Regions from separate parts of the Homo sapiens genome. Here regions 2 and 3 are each linked to region 1. Evidence: promoter capture Hi-C in 16 types of primary human blood cells and fetal thymus (Javierre and others, 2016). All regions are on one chromosome and are shown on one strand. Each heading gives the region's core, a stretch centred on a gene start or on the middle of the fragment in contact. The rest is flanking DNA. Distances are from core to core; before and after follow the strand shown. Region 1 holds the start of PHC2 (polyhomeotic homolog 2). Region 2 holds the start of RNF19B (ring finger protein 19B). Region 3 overlaps AZIN2 (antizyme inhibitor 2).

What was found. Contacts are between HindIII fragments. The CHiCAGO score rates a contact against its expected background, and 5 or more counts as called.
Region 2: a contact is called between the fragment with the promoter of RNF19B here and the fragment with the promoter of PHC2 in region 1, in 9 of 17 cell types (fetal thymus, naive CD4 T cells, naive B cells and 6 more). The highest score is 7.8, in fetal thymus.
Region 3: a contact is called between a fragment that was not itself captured here and the fragment with the promoter of PHC2 in region 1, in 1 of 17 cell types (endothelial precursors). The highest score is 6.5, in endothelial precursors.

What each region holds. Positions count from the first base shown.
Region 1 is chr1:33,428,863-33,433,628 of GRCh38, reverse strand. It overlaps PHC2 (polyhomeotic homolog 2), which reads left to right and starts at 2,534. Exons shown (of 15, transcript NM_001385109.1): 1 at 2,534-2,653. RefSeq lists a silencer at 2,331-2,850. The HindIII fragment of the contact is 9,079 bases long and covers 1-3,649 here.
Region 2 is chr1:32,962,331-32,967,096 of GRCh38, reverse strand. RNF19B (ring finger protein 19B) reads left to right here and starts at 2,288. Exons shown (of 9, transcript NM_001300826.2): 1 at 2,288-3,046. The coding sequence starts at 2,412. RefSeq lists silencers at 2,004-2,573, 2,934-3,143 and an enhancer at 2,189-2,693. The HindIII fragment of the contact is 3,974 bases long and covers 1,333-4,766 here.
Region 3 is chr1:33,113,735-33,118,500 of GRCh38, reverse strand. It overlaps AZIN2 (antizyme inhibitor 2), which reads right to left. Exons shown (of 12, transcript NM_052998.4): 11 at 385-599. Among named protein-coding and RNA genes, the nearest start is that of AZIN2, 35 kb to the right of the region's middle. The HindIII fragment of the contact is 1,356 bases long and covers 1,783-3,138 here.

The DNA.
Region 1 (4,766 bases), core at 1,285-3,784:
GTGCAGGAATTATTTATGATCCCAAGAAGAGAGAATGTCATTTGGAGAGATAACAAGCCTTCAGCAGCACAACAGGCTGTTTAATATGCCACGAGGGAAGGAAGGCAGCTTCAGAATTCCAAAGCTAGCTAGGAAGCCTTGAGATATTGTGTACATGTGGGTTGTCTGTTCCTAGGAAAACTCCTGGGATAATAACAAAAATGACATTAGCTATCAATTATGGAGGGTTTATCCTTGGGCCGGGGCCTATATATGAAACGTTTATATATATATATATATATGAAACCGAGACTTTGGGAAGTTAAGTGTGTGTATATATATATACACACATACAGTAAGTCATTAAATTCTCACAACATTTCTATCCTATTTTACAAATGAGGAAATTGAGGCACAGAGAGTTTAAGTAACTTTCCCAAGGTCATACAGTCAATGAGTGGCCAAGTCAGGATTTTTAACCCAAGCAGGTCTGCTTCTATGTTTGTGCTCTTAAGCACCAGTCATGTTTTAGGAGGAAATTGGGTTTTAAAGCAGTCTAGGAAGGTGAAATGTACGTATATTCAAAATTACCTTTGATGATCCCTTTAAATGTCTATAAAGTTTAGCACATTTAGTTTGAGGCACAGAGCCCTGTCCAGTAATCCATAAATATATTAAAGTTAGAGAACCATGGCCAGATGTGGTAGCTTACACCTGTGAATCCCAGAGTTTTGGGAAGCCCAAGTAGGAAGATTGCTTGAGGCCAGAAGTTCGAGACAAACCTGGGCAACATAACAATTACCCGGGTGTTGGGGTGCATGCCTGTAGTCACAGCTACTCCTCGGGAGGCTGAGGCAGGAGGATCACTTGAACCCAGGAGTTCAATGTTATAGTGAGCTATGATCACACCACTGCACTCCAGCCTGGATGACAGAGCATAATTCTGTCTCTAAAAAATAAATAAATAAATAAAATTAGAGAATCACTGAGCTAAACAAGTCTGTACACAGATGTTTGTGTTTTTAAACTACTGTGCCTTTAGCTAAACTATCAAATCCCTAAGGTAAAAATGGAAAGACAGGCATAAGCCGGACGCGGTGGCTTATGCCTGTAATCCCAGCACTTTGGGAGGCCAAGGCGGGCAGATCACCTGAGGTCAGGAGTTCGAGACCAGCCTGGCCAACAAGGCGAAACCCTGTCTCTACTAAAAGTACAAAAATTAGCCGGGTGTGGTGGCAGATGCCTGTAATCCCAGCTACTCAGGAGGCTGAGTCAGGAGAATAGCTTGAATCCAGCAGGCAGAGGTTGCAGTGAGCCAAGATCGCACCATTGCACTCCAGTCTGGGTGACAAGAGCGAGATCGGACTCAAAAAAAACAAAAAACAAAAAACAGACAAACAAAAAAAAACAAAAAACAAAGGAAAGACAGAGAATTCTACAGTGCCCCTTACCTACCTGGTGACTCTATTCTCTTAATATATAGCCTCTGTGACCTTAACACATGTCACTTGTCACAAGGTATATTTGCTGTGGGATTAAGACGTAACACCATCATATCTTGAGAGGAGACAAAATTCTATTAGAGAAGGGATTCTAAGTCCAATCCTAAATTAAATAAATCTGATACAATGAGACTAGCTTTGGGGGCCAGATAAACCTGGATTTGAACCCTAAATCTGCTACTTACTAGCTGTATAACGTTGGGCAATTTGCTTAACTTCCCAAAGTCTCGGTTTCTTAATCCATAGAATGGTCACAGTAATTCCACCATGTTGAGAAGACTGAATTTAAAAGTTTCTAAAGTAATGAGCTTCAGTATAAATCAGTGTAACTCAGCATTAGCTCTTAATAGCTGTTTGACCTAAATTATGTCACATGGCCTCTCTGAGCCTCATTTTCTCTCCTTTGTAATACAGGCATAACTATTCTGCCTATTAATCTCAAAGGTCACTGTAAGGAAACAGTAAAACGCTGTACAAATTATGTACAAGGATTTTCTCAACTGCACAGCACACCTGAAATTGTGAGGAGGTGCTAGGAGACCCCTGCTGGATTTGAAAAAACTGGCGATTGTCCCGGGTCTGAAGTCAAAAATGATCTTAGATCTCCACTTTTGCCATTTAATGTTGTTGTATGATCTTGAGCGAATGATCTAACCTCTCTGAGCCTCCACTTTCCCTACTATCTAGTGGGGTTAATAGGACAGACATCACTTTCTGCAGCAAAGTGTTAAGGCACGTGGTAAGTGCTCAATAAATGTTGGCTGAATCTGGATCTCTCTGGCTGAGACAAATCTCTCCATCCGCAAGGTGGGAAAACTGCGCGTGGTCGCCATGTGGCGCTCAGGTAGAGGAGATGCTCCCGGGGGCACCGGGCTCCGGCACCTCCCCACTCCCCCGCCCACCCGCCCGTTGCCATGGCCACCGGTTCAGGCTGGGAGCAGCACTAAGGCGTGTTCCGCCCAATCCCCGCCCTTCTAGGGTGACCATTGGCTGGAGCGGCCACGTGACGCGCGCTGGTATGCTAATATATGGTAATAGCGCCCTCGCCCCTCCTCCGCGGGCAGCGTCCGAGCAGCCAGCAGGGTGCGCGGCGCCGAGCCGAGGGGGCGGGCTGAGGGGCGGCCCCCGGGAGAGAGCGGCCAGGTGGAGGAGGAGCGCGGAGGCGACCGCAGGTAACGGGCGGGCGCGTGCGCGCTGGGGCCAGCTCGCGGCTGACGGGCAGCGCGCGGGGGACACCGGCCGCCGCGCTGCCGGCTTAACCCTTTGGGCACCCAGCTGTCACGGTCGGGCCGGAGCGCTCGGCCGGGACGGGCCGCGCGGGGCGGGGCATTGCCATGGGCACGGACAGGCGGGCGGCAGGCGGCCTGACCCCTGGTCCGCGGCGTGGGGCCCGCGCTGGGAGCCCGCAGTCCCGGCCGGCGACCGGCAGAGCGCGGCGCCCCCGGGCCGGGAACGCGCAGCGAGGAGGGCTGCGGAGAGCCTGGGGCCGAGGCTTGCCGGGAACGGGAACCGGAACGGGAACGGGCCAAGGTCCCGTCAGTGACTCGCTTTCTCCGGGGACCGACCCCCCTCCTGCGGAGAGGCCCGCGCCGCGGCAGCCCGTGGTCTTGCGCGGCCTGCGCCTGCTCCGCTTGTCCCGCAGAGTGCGGTGAGACCCGGGCGTCGGGCCTGACCGGGGCGCCCGCTCCCCAGCCGCGGCGTGACAGCGCAGCCGCTGGCACTTTCGGCCCAGAGTCAAGCGTGGCGTGGGGGGCACCAGCAGAGGGAACCGGGGGTTGCTGGAACTGGGAGGAGAGAACAGTCGTCTAAAGGAAAAGCGGGCCCCAAGGTTGGAGAAGGAGGGATGCCCTAGAAAGGCGCTGGTCCCTTGTTTTCTGTGCTGAGTGATGACCTGACACCCATGGGAAAAGGTCGCTGCTGGACACCTGGATCGGGTCTGTCATACACGGAGGAAGCGGCTGTTCTACGTGAGTGTCTAACAAATTTCTTATAAGGCGAGGTTTAAATTCATCTTCCCCCCTCCCCAGGTCTGCTACAGAAGTGTCTTCTTGTAATTATCCCCCTCCCCCAATTCACTAAGACTGGTGGCAGCTTTAGGCTCACAGTGTAATTTAGCTTTTGCGACAATAGAAATGGTAGGAGGAGAGATGCGCCACTGATACTAAGCTTGCCCTGGGAGTTTCTTGGAAGTGTGGGGTAAAAAATATTTCTATCACCAGTGGGGATGAAAAATCGGCTAATGCGCCCGTGATATCAATAGAGTTTCTTTTGTGAGTCTAAAGTCGTTCCTTCTAAATCAAGAGAAAATGCGGTTACAATTGAAAAGTACCAGAAACCAATTTGATTTTGCAAGTGAAGTGCAAATTCCACTTCCACGTTGCTCTTGATGTCTTTTATCACCCAACAACAAATACTTGGCATATGCCAGGCACTCTGCTATGTCTTGGGGATGCAAAGATGAATAAGATAATTAGTCCTTGTCCTGAAAGAAGTGGTAGGAGAAACAAATGAAATTGCTAGTAAAAGTGATTAACAGCATAATAGATGTGAATGCAAAGGGCTTTGGAAGCACAGAGGAGGGAACAATTAGCTGTCTGAGAGGACCAGGGAAGGCTTTCCAGAGAACACATTTAAGCAAGGTGTTGAAGGATAAATAGGAGTTTACCTTGCAGAGAAAATTGGAAAGGACTGAAAAGGCAGCCAAAGCGGGGGAACAGCGAATGCAGCCACATAAAGAATATGTTATCTCTAGGGAATGGCTTTCTATTGTAACTATGGCTTTTTTTCCTTCCTCTGTAATGTAACTTTCTAAAAGTAGCCTAGAATTTCTTATTCCCAGCACAGTTGTCCAGTGATATTTTTCTTATTGTTTTCTCCCCCATATTTTCCCCTCATCAGTTTTTCTGAGCCTCATTCCTGGTCTTTGTCACCCATATCTTCCCAAGTAAGGGTCCATCATGTGGAGGTTGAATAGGAGTAGTTTTCAGTTGCTCCAAGGGAGAGGGCCTGAAACTGGGCATAATGTTTGGCACTAGAGGCAGCATCTGAGAGGGGCAAATCTAAATCATACAAAAAGAGAATACATGACCATAACTAGGGAAGCAATGCTGAATGTCAAATTTGTGAGACCTGGGGAAATAAGTAGTAAGATCAGAAGCTGGAAGGATCTGGATTAAGAGAGGATTGGAGTGTGAGATGGGTCAGGGCAAGTAGTCCAGGATTGAGACCATGAATCGTGCACATGCAGCTGAGCCCACTGTTGCATGGTGCCAGCTGTGCAGAACA
Region 2 (4,766 bases), core at 1,039-3,538, 470 kb after region 1:
AATTGACCACTCCCTTCTGGGAACATACTATGTTGGTGTCTGTGACATCATGCCTGCTTAGTTTTTCTTTTATGTCACTGGCCCCCGCTTTTCAGTTTTCTTTGTTGGCTCCCCTTCTTGTTTTATGTCAAAAGTTTGAAGTTCTGGAGACCTGGTTTAAAATATCACAGCTGGTTTCCACCTTTTGAGACGATGTCTTTTTGTGTCACCCAGGCTGGAGTGCAGTGGCATAATCACGGCTCACTGCAGTCTCAACCTCCCAGGCTCAAGCATTCCTCCCACCTCAGTCTCCCAAGTAGCGGGGACTACAGGCACACTCCATCACACCCAGATAATTTTTGTATTTTTTGTAGAGATGGGGTTTTGCCATGTTGCTCAAGCTGGTCTCAAACTCCTGGGCTTAAGAGATTCACCAGCCTAGGTCTCCCAAAGTGTTGTAATTACAGGTGCGAGCCACAGCTCCTGGCCCATCTTACCATTCCTTATTAATAACAGAGCACTCATTGTTAGCTGGGCACATTGTACCCAGTTAAGAGAATGTTTCCCAGGCTCCCTTGCAGCTGAGTATGGCCATGTGAGTGAGTATGTTTTGGCAAAAATGTGCGGGACTTTCGAGGCAGTCCTTTTTTCTTTCTTTCTTTTTCTTTTTCTTTTTTTTTTTTTTTTGAGACAGAGTCTCGCTCTGTCGCCCAGGATGGAGTGCAGCGGCGCGATCTCGGCTCACTGCAACCTCCGCCTCCTGGGTTCACGCCATTCTCCTGCCTCAGCCTCTCGAGTTGCTGGGATTACAGGCGCCCGCCACCACGCCCGGCTAATTTTTTATATTTTTAGTAGAGACGGGATTTCACTGTGTTAGCCAGGATGGTCTCCATCTCCTGACCTCGTGATCCGCCAGCCTGGGCCTCCCAAAGTGCTGGGATTACAGGCGTGAGCCTCCGCGCCCAGCCCCAAGGCAGTCTTCTTAAAAGGAAGAGGATGCATCTTTCTTCCCTTTTTCCTTCCCACTGTTTGGAATATGGACCATAGTGAGGTGACCTTAACACTGGAAGCCAAATACTGAGGATGGCTGAACAGCCCTGAACTGCCTACTTTTGGACTTATATTTCATGGAAAGAGAGAAATTTCTGGCTAGGTGCAGCGGCTCATGCCTGTAATCCCAGCACTTTGAGAGGCCAAGGCAGGAGGATCGCTTGAGCCCAGGAGCTCGAGACCAGCCTGAGCAACACAGGGAGATTTCATCTCCATGAAAAAAATAAAAATAATAGGCAGGCCTGGTGGCGCACCTGTGCTCCCAGCTACTCCAGAGGTTGGGGTGGGAGGATCGCTTAAGCTTGGGAGGTTGAGGCTTCAGTGAGCTGTGATCACGCCACTGCACTCCAACCTGGGTGACAGAGCAAAACCGTCTCAGGAAAAAAAATAAATAAATTTCAATCGTAAGCTATTTTTTTCTTTTGTTATTTGCAATTGAATGTAATCCTGATACATTCCTGTTGTTGAAGCTGTTTGCCTGCCTCCCACTAGGAAGCCTAAGGGTCCAGATCCTCCCCCAGTCAGAGGAATGGGGAACTAGAAAAAGAAAGGCAAAGGCACTGCCAGGCAAGAAAACGCTGGGTCTCCTTCCACAAGTTTGGTAAGTAAGCAAGATACCAGGAGGATAGAATGGTAAGTGAGCCTAGAAATAGACTATTATATACATAGGGTTTATTAAATACATAGAGAACACTGAATGCTAGACTAAGAAATTTGGACTTTATTCTGGAAGTCCCTTGCAATAGGGGACCTTGTCTGTTTTATTTTCTAATGCCTCGCACTTTGTAGAAGCTCAGTGAATGAATATATTCTTTATTAATTTATGCCGTCTGCTTAATAAACAGAAATGTTGGAAGGTGAACCAGTTGGGAGTCACCATCTGATCAACCCCTGCCTGCTTTTTATAAATAATGTAACTGAACCATCATTTACTGGAAGTGGCAATCAACCTGTGAGGAACGGCAAACCAAAAAGTCCACCTTGGGTGTCATGGTGATGGAATTGGAGGCGGAGACCAGGGAGAGCAGCGGGCTAGGATCTCTGAGAGTCTCCGCAACATGGCGGCCCTGGAACCACCTGACCGGCAGGAGGCGGAGCTCCGCCCCAGCTCGCTCGGCCCCACCCCGCTCGGCCCTGCCCAGCGCACTCCTAGACCGGGGCGCAAGGGTTGTGAGGTGTTTGAGCGAAGCGCCTGCGCAGGGCAGCGGCGCGCGGGGCGGAGGCTTTATAATCACTTCGTCGTTGCCGCTCGGCTTCTATCGCCGGGAGGGCGGTTGAGGCGGTGGTGGCGGCGTCGGCGGCGGCCGGGCGCTGGCTGAGGGGCGCTGAGGCGGGAGCTGTGGCGGCGCTGGGCGCCCCTGGCTCCTCGGCCTCTGCCGGCCATGGGCTCCGAGAAGGACTCCGAGTCGCCGCGCTCCACATCGCTACATGCGGCCGCACCCGACCCTAAGTGCCGCAGCGGCGGCCGGCGCCGGCGCCTCACCTTGCACAGCGTCTTCTCTGCCTCGGCCCGCGGCCGCCGCGCCCGGGCCAAGCCGCAGGCCGAGCCGCCGCCCCCGGCTGCGCAGCCGCCGCCCGCCCCGGCCCCTGCCGCGGCCCAGGGCCCGCCGCCCGAGGCGCTGCCCGCCGAGCCGGCCGCCGAGGCCGAGGCGGAGGCCGCGGCGGCGGCGGCGGAGCCTGGGTTCGACGATGAGGAGGCGGCGGAGGGCGGTGGCCCGGGCGCGGAGGAGGTGGAGTGTCCGCTGTGCCTGGTGCGGCTGCCGCCTGAGCGGGCCCCGCGCCTCCTCAGCTGTCCGCACCGCTCGTGCCGGGACTGCCTCCGCCACTACCTGCGCCTGGAGATAAGCGAGAGCAGGGTGCCCATCAGCTGCCCCGAGTGCAGCGAGCGACTCAACCCGCACGACATCCGCTTGCTGCTCGCCGACCCGCCGCTTATGCACAAGTACGAGGAGTTCATGCTGCGCCGCTACCTAGCCTCGGACCCCGACTGCCGCTGGTGCCCGGCCCCGGACTGCGGGTGAGCGCGGGGGCGTGGCGCGGGTGGCGGCGGGCTGCAGCCGAGGGGCGTGGCTGGGGGCAGCAGGGACCCCGCGTGGGTGTCCCAAGCAGGGAAACCCGCAAGGCGGCAGCTTCGGCGGGGTGGTAACCATCAGGCAAGCCCAGACTAGTGGTGTGAACGCACCCGACACCCCGCCCCCTGCCCCAGGGCTCGAGGTGGCTGCTAAGCATTCGGTGAGGGGAAGGGAGCTGTCCAAGTTAGGAGACAGGGAGAGGCGGTTTTTTTGTTGGGGGAATGCCCTCTGTCCGGAGGTGAGGACAGTATCTTTTTTTTTTTTTCTTTTTTTTTTTGGAGACGGAGTCTCGCCCTGCCGCCCAGGCTGGAGTGCAATGGCGCGATCTCGGCTCACTGCAACCTCCGCCTCTCAGGTTCAAGCGATTCTCCTGCCTCAGCCTCCCGAGTAGCTGGGATTACAGGCGCCCGCCACCACACCCGGCTAATTTCTTTGTATTTTTAGTAGAGATGGGGTTTCACCATGTTGGCTAGGCTGGTCTCGAACTCCTGACCTCAGGTGATCCTCCTGCCTCGGCCTCCCAAAGTGCTGGGATTACAGGCGTGAGCCACCGCTCCCGGCCAAGGTGGGGAGTATCTCTTAATGAGAGTGGGGAGGGGATATTTGGCCAAGGAGGGAATGAGAATATTCTGAGGGGGCAGCGCGTCGGAGGGGTGTGTCCACTTGGCTAGGGACAGACTTAGCATTGCAGAAGAAGGCGTGTTCTCCCTGACAACCACCGCTGAAAGTTGGGATGGAGGTGACTGGGGAATAGGCTCTCGGGTACCCTGAGCACTATGTGTTCTGTGCCACGCTATCGGGAGGCACTCTGTCGTTCTTACCTTGCTGCCTTGGGTAGGGTGAGGGGTAGACAGATATGTTCTTTGTCCAGAGTCTCAATGGGGGCACTGAGAAGAATGCCCAGAGGTTGGTGTGATAGGAGAAATTGTGTTTCTGAACCCCTTTGATCTTGAGTTCTTGATGACAGTCTTTTTAATGCACCATGTAGGCTGAATTTTAAAGGGCAGTAAATTAAAATATGCAATATCTGCAGAGACATAATACACCAGATTTTGCTATCTGAAGCATTCAGTGGAGACCTTCCTCGCCCTCCCCGCCTTTAGAAGTCTAATTGTTACTGTCAGTATATCCCATGAAGGGGTTGCACGCAGGAAGAGGGGCTCATTTAAGTAGTTGGGAGTCAGACAGCCATTACCTGTTCTGTGACCTTGGGCAGATAATTTTATTCTTGTGTGTCATGTTTTGGCGACAAAAAGATGCTGGGGAGTCCTTGCAGTGTGTAAACGTAATGCTAGTAAAAAGTTGTGTGATCTTTAGCTTCAAAGGAGTTAAGGACTTTTAATTGTAGCCTATATATCAAGGTGGTTTTGAAATCTCCATGATGCTGCTGGTTGTCTCCTTTCAAAAGGAGCTGTCTTAGAGTGTCTAGGAGAGTAAGAAGAGTTAACTTCTGTTTTTAATTCTGCCAAACTTGTTTAGAAATGGGTGTGCTATTTAACCTCACTGAGATGGGGTTTCTAAATTACTTTGAAGTGTTGTGGTCAAAGGAATGGTGTTTATGGTGGCTCACTTTCACTTTCAGTTAATAAGTATCAGGAAGGACCTTTTAGGTTCATGGAACTGTCTATGTCTAGTGATCTTACTGGCCCTCTGAGGTTAATTTAT
Region 3 (4,766 bases), core at 1,211-3,710, 320 kb after region 1:
ACTCTCCATGCGAGCCTTGAATGCACCACACTTGCTCTCCGTTCCTTTCTTCTGGGAAGTCCTACCACCCACTCCTGTAGTTGACTCCCACTTCCTCAGGGAGGCCTGGGCCTCAGGGAGGGCTCTGCACTTCCACCAGGCACAGTATTATCACAAGGGCCTGTCTGCTTCTCTGTGCCTCCCTCAGGGCTGTGAGCTCCTCTAGGAAAGCCCAGCCTCACTTATGGCCACAGCCAGGTGCCAAGCACATCCCTCACGTGGGACCAGCAGCCAACAGCTACTTGTCAAGTTGGATTACACAGAAGCAGAATCTCAAATCTCAAGTTTCCCTCGTTTCTGCCCAGTTCCTCCCCATACCCCCATTTTCCAGCAGGGCCCTCTTACCAGGCCACCCGGGACATGGCATAGGTGATGTGGCAGGCCTGGGTCCCCCAAAAGGGGGAACCCATGCCCACAGTGTAGGCGCCCATGTTGTCAAAGACCAGCCAGTCCCCTACGTGTAGTTGCGGCAGCCACAGGCCCTCAGCCACGCAATCACAGCCATCAACCGCCGGGCCCCACAGGCTGCTGCTGTACAGGGGCTGCTCCGTGGATGGTTTCTGTAGGAAGAAGGGATGGCCATGCCAGCTCTCCTGGGCATACAACAGCCTTGCCACTCCCTCCCTCAAAAGCCTTCTATGGCTCCCATAGCCAACAGGATAAAGTCTAGATGGGCCTCCTAGCTTAGCATTTAAGGCCCTTCCCACTTCTCTGCATTCGTTGCCTCTTACACTCTGAAGTCACGAATGCCTGGCCTTAAATCCAGGTTCCAGCAGTTGTTAGCTGTGTGACCTTGGGCAAAATGCTTAATCTCTCCATGTCTCAGTTTGCTCATTTGTAAAATGGGGATAACAACAGTACCTACCTCGTAAGGTTACTGCAAGGATAAATGAGTTAGTGTATGGAGAGCATGTAGAACAGTGGCGGCACACGGCGAGGGTGCACAGAAAGTCAGCACAATTGTAACTTATTGTTGTGATTGCTGTTGTTACCACCTCTGCACTTTGGTCTTCACTGGCCTCTTTCCAGACGTCGATATGTCCACACCTCTACAGCCCTTCCCCGACCCTCAAATCTAGCCTGTCTTCTGAGCCCAGCCCTGGGGCTCCCTCGTCTATGAAGCCCTCCCAGATGTCCTCACTCCATGCCAGGCCCCACAACAGGAGCCAGCAGTATACCAGGCTAGACTCACCCTCCCTCAGGCCCTCAGTCTAATGAGAAAGATGGACTTCCAACAACAATCACAGGGGGACCTGGCAGAGGTCACAGAGGACCCCACAGAGTAGACACAATTACTCCCATTTCAGAAAAATGGAGGCTCTGACAGCTTAAATGACTTGCCCAAAGACACAACTACCAATGACATAAAATTTAAGATTTTTTCTTAAATGATTTCCAAATCCAGAAATTTGTAACAGACTCTGGACAACCAAGTTATCAGTGCCATTTGCCACAGTGTAGGCAGGGATCTTGCCAGGCAGATCCTAGAGTCACCACTGAAATGTGGATGATGATGACTGTGCCCTCTGAGAGGCCTCTTCTCCCATCACTGCACTTGCTGTGCTCCAGTTACTCCAGTTGCTCTGGGCTCCCCAGGTAAACCCTACTTCCCTTCCCATACCTCCTACTTTCCCCCATGCTATTCCCTGAGGCCCCAAATTTGCAAATTCCTATTTCTCCTTTAGATCTCAGCTAAAATGGCTTCAGGGAAGCCTTTCCTAAAGCTCCATGCTCCCTCAAGCTTTGCTTTCGTAGTATTTACCATAATTCATAAATATTTGTGAAATATCTGCTCAGGCCTGTCTTCCCTGAAGACTATAAATTCCATGAGCCCAGGGGATGTGTAGGTCTTGTCATCCCCATCTCCTCAATGCCTAGCAGGCTGGCATCCATTAGGTGCTTATTCAAATAATATTTTTAAATAAATGAATTAAAGAATGGGGAATATATGAGTGATGAGAAAGAGAAAGAATGACAAAGGGGAGAAAAAGGATATGAATGGAAGCCATCCAAAGGGCATAGATGGAAGCAACAGAGAAGACCAGCAGAGAAAAAAGGAAAGGCGTTTCAATACCTTAGCCAGAGCAGGAATGAGTAAAATTGAGAAAGAAAAGTCGCAGTTTCCATAAGCAGAAATAGTGCTCATATATTTGATAAAAAGTTAATAAGCTATTAGTCCCATTAATAAAGAAAAATATGTACATTATGTAAGTTAAGAATGATAGCTATCCAATCTTCAGGAATTCATTCATTCAACAAGTACTTATTGAGCACCTACTAATTGCCAGGCTGTGATCTAGGAGCTGGAGATGCAGCAGTAAACACACACACAAAATAAAATTCCTGTGGTCATGAAGCTCCCATTCTAAGAAGGGGAGACAAAGGAATACTGTATATCCTTGTTCATATAACTGAACATTCTTGTTTATAAACTTTTTGTTGATGAATAAAATTAACCTCAAGTGGTCTGAATTATTTCCCTTAGCCCCACTCATTGAAAAACATTAAGCTAATGTTTAAAGATGAGTGGAGGGGATGCTCTATAAATGAATCTACAAGGATCTTTGGGAAAATAAATTTTAAAGATTCTTCCATGGTAAAGAGAAAAGGCACCCTTGGATTATAAGAAGTTAGCATTCCCTCACTTGTTATTAGTGGTGTAAATTTTAAAAAATTAGGTGAAAAAAGATTTTAAATCTTCACATGACATAATGCAAAGCTACGCTTTTACTATTTATGTATCTATTTAACTTTTTTTTGAGACAGAGTCTCACTCTGTCATCGAGGCTGGAGTGTAGTGGTGTGATCTCAGCCCACTGCAACCTCTGCCTCCTGGGTTCAGCGATTCTCCTGTCTCAGCCTCCCGAGTAGCTGAGATTACAGGTGCCGGCCACCACACCTGGCTAATTTTTGTAGTTTTAGTAGATACAGGATTTTGCCATGTTGGCCAGGCTGGTCTCAAACTCCTGACCTCAGGTGATCCGCCACCTCGGCCTTCCAAAGTACTGAGATTGCAGGTGTGAGCCACTGCACCCAGCCTATTTTTTTTTTTTTAAGGAATCTGTGAAATAAATATTCTAAAAGCTGTGGCAACAAGCTTGTAAATCTCAGCTATTTTTACAAGTCTGAGTGGAAATGGACAAGCATCTGCAAAAATCCAAGATGCCCAGTCTGCCAGCCACTAGGCCCCTCTGTGAGAGAGGGCAGGGGGTTCCTCATTTACAAAGCATACCACCACCACTTCATACCTTATCTGGGAGGCAGGTGGCATGATTGCATTCCCATTTTACAGATGAGAAAACTCAGAGAGGGAAGGTGACCTGCCCAAGGCTCTAGGGGGAGTTAGTAGAACTCTGGGCAGTCCCAGACAAGGAGCCTCCTGGCTGCACCTAGCTGCCTTCTTCAAAGGCACATATGTCTGACAGAGCCACAGAAAAAACAAGGTCAAACATTGAAAAAGGTGCACGGCCTTGATGGAATCCCTAAATAATTCTTCAACTTTTAAAGAATAAATCAATAGGCTGGGCGCGGTGGCTCACGCCTGTAATCCCAGCACTTTAGGAGGCGGACACGGGCGCATCACTTGAGGTCAGGAGTTTGAGGCCAGCCTGGCCAACATGGCAAAACCCTGTCGCTACTAAAAATACAAAAATTAGCTGGGCGTGTAATCCCAGCTACTCAGGAGGCTGAGGCAGAAGAATCGCTTGAACCTAGGAGGCAGAGGTTGCAGTGAGCCAAGATCCAGCCATTGCACTCCAGCCTGGGTGACAAGAGCAAAACTCCATCTCAAAAAAAAAAAAAAAAAAAAAGGCGGGTCGCGGTGGCTCATGCCTGTAATCTCAGCACTTTGGGAGGCTGAGGTGGGTGGATCACGAGGTCAGGAAATCGAGACCATCCTGGCTAACACGGTGAAACCCCGTCTCTACTAAAAATACAAAAAATTAGCCGGGCATGGTGGCGGGCGCCTGTAGTCCCAGCTACTTGGGAGGCTGAGGCAGGAGAATGGCGTGAACCCGGAAGGTGGAGCTTGCAGTGAGCCGAGATTGCGCCACTGCACTCCAGCCTGGGCGACAGAGCGGGACTCCATCTCAAAAAAAAAAAAAAAAGAAAAGAAAAAAAAATCATCCAGTCTGGCCAACATGGTAAAGCCCTGTCTCTACTAAAAATACAAAAAAATTAGCCAGGCATGGTGGCAGGCGCCTGTAATCTCAGCTACTCAGGAGGCTGACACAGGCGAATCATTTGAACCCGGACGGAGGTTTCAGTGAGCTGAGATCGCACCACTGCACTCCAGCCTGGGTGACAGAGCAGGACTCCATCTCAAAAAAAAAAAGAAAAGAATAAATCAATAATTCGTACAAAAATATTTTAAAAGACAAAAATGAGATAAAAAGAAAAAAAAACCCTATGGCCAAAATCTCACTTGTGAATATATAGGCAAAAACCTGACATGAAATCTTAGCTAACCAAATTCACAGTCATATTATCTCTAAAATGAAAGGTGCAGACAACAGGAGAGAAGTCAATCACTGGCTTCATAACATGGAAAATATAGATCTACAGTTCAAGTTTAATTTTCCCAATACATGTCAACATACCATGAAGTAGCCCGTAGCATCTATTCTTTATTAAAACTACAGACAAAACAAAACCCCACAATGAAGAGAGACTATTTTAAATAATGATCCAACTCTGACTTCATTGAGATACACTGAAGTTCAGCCCTG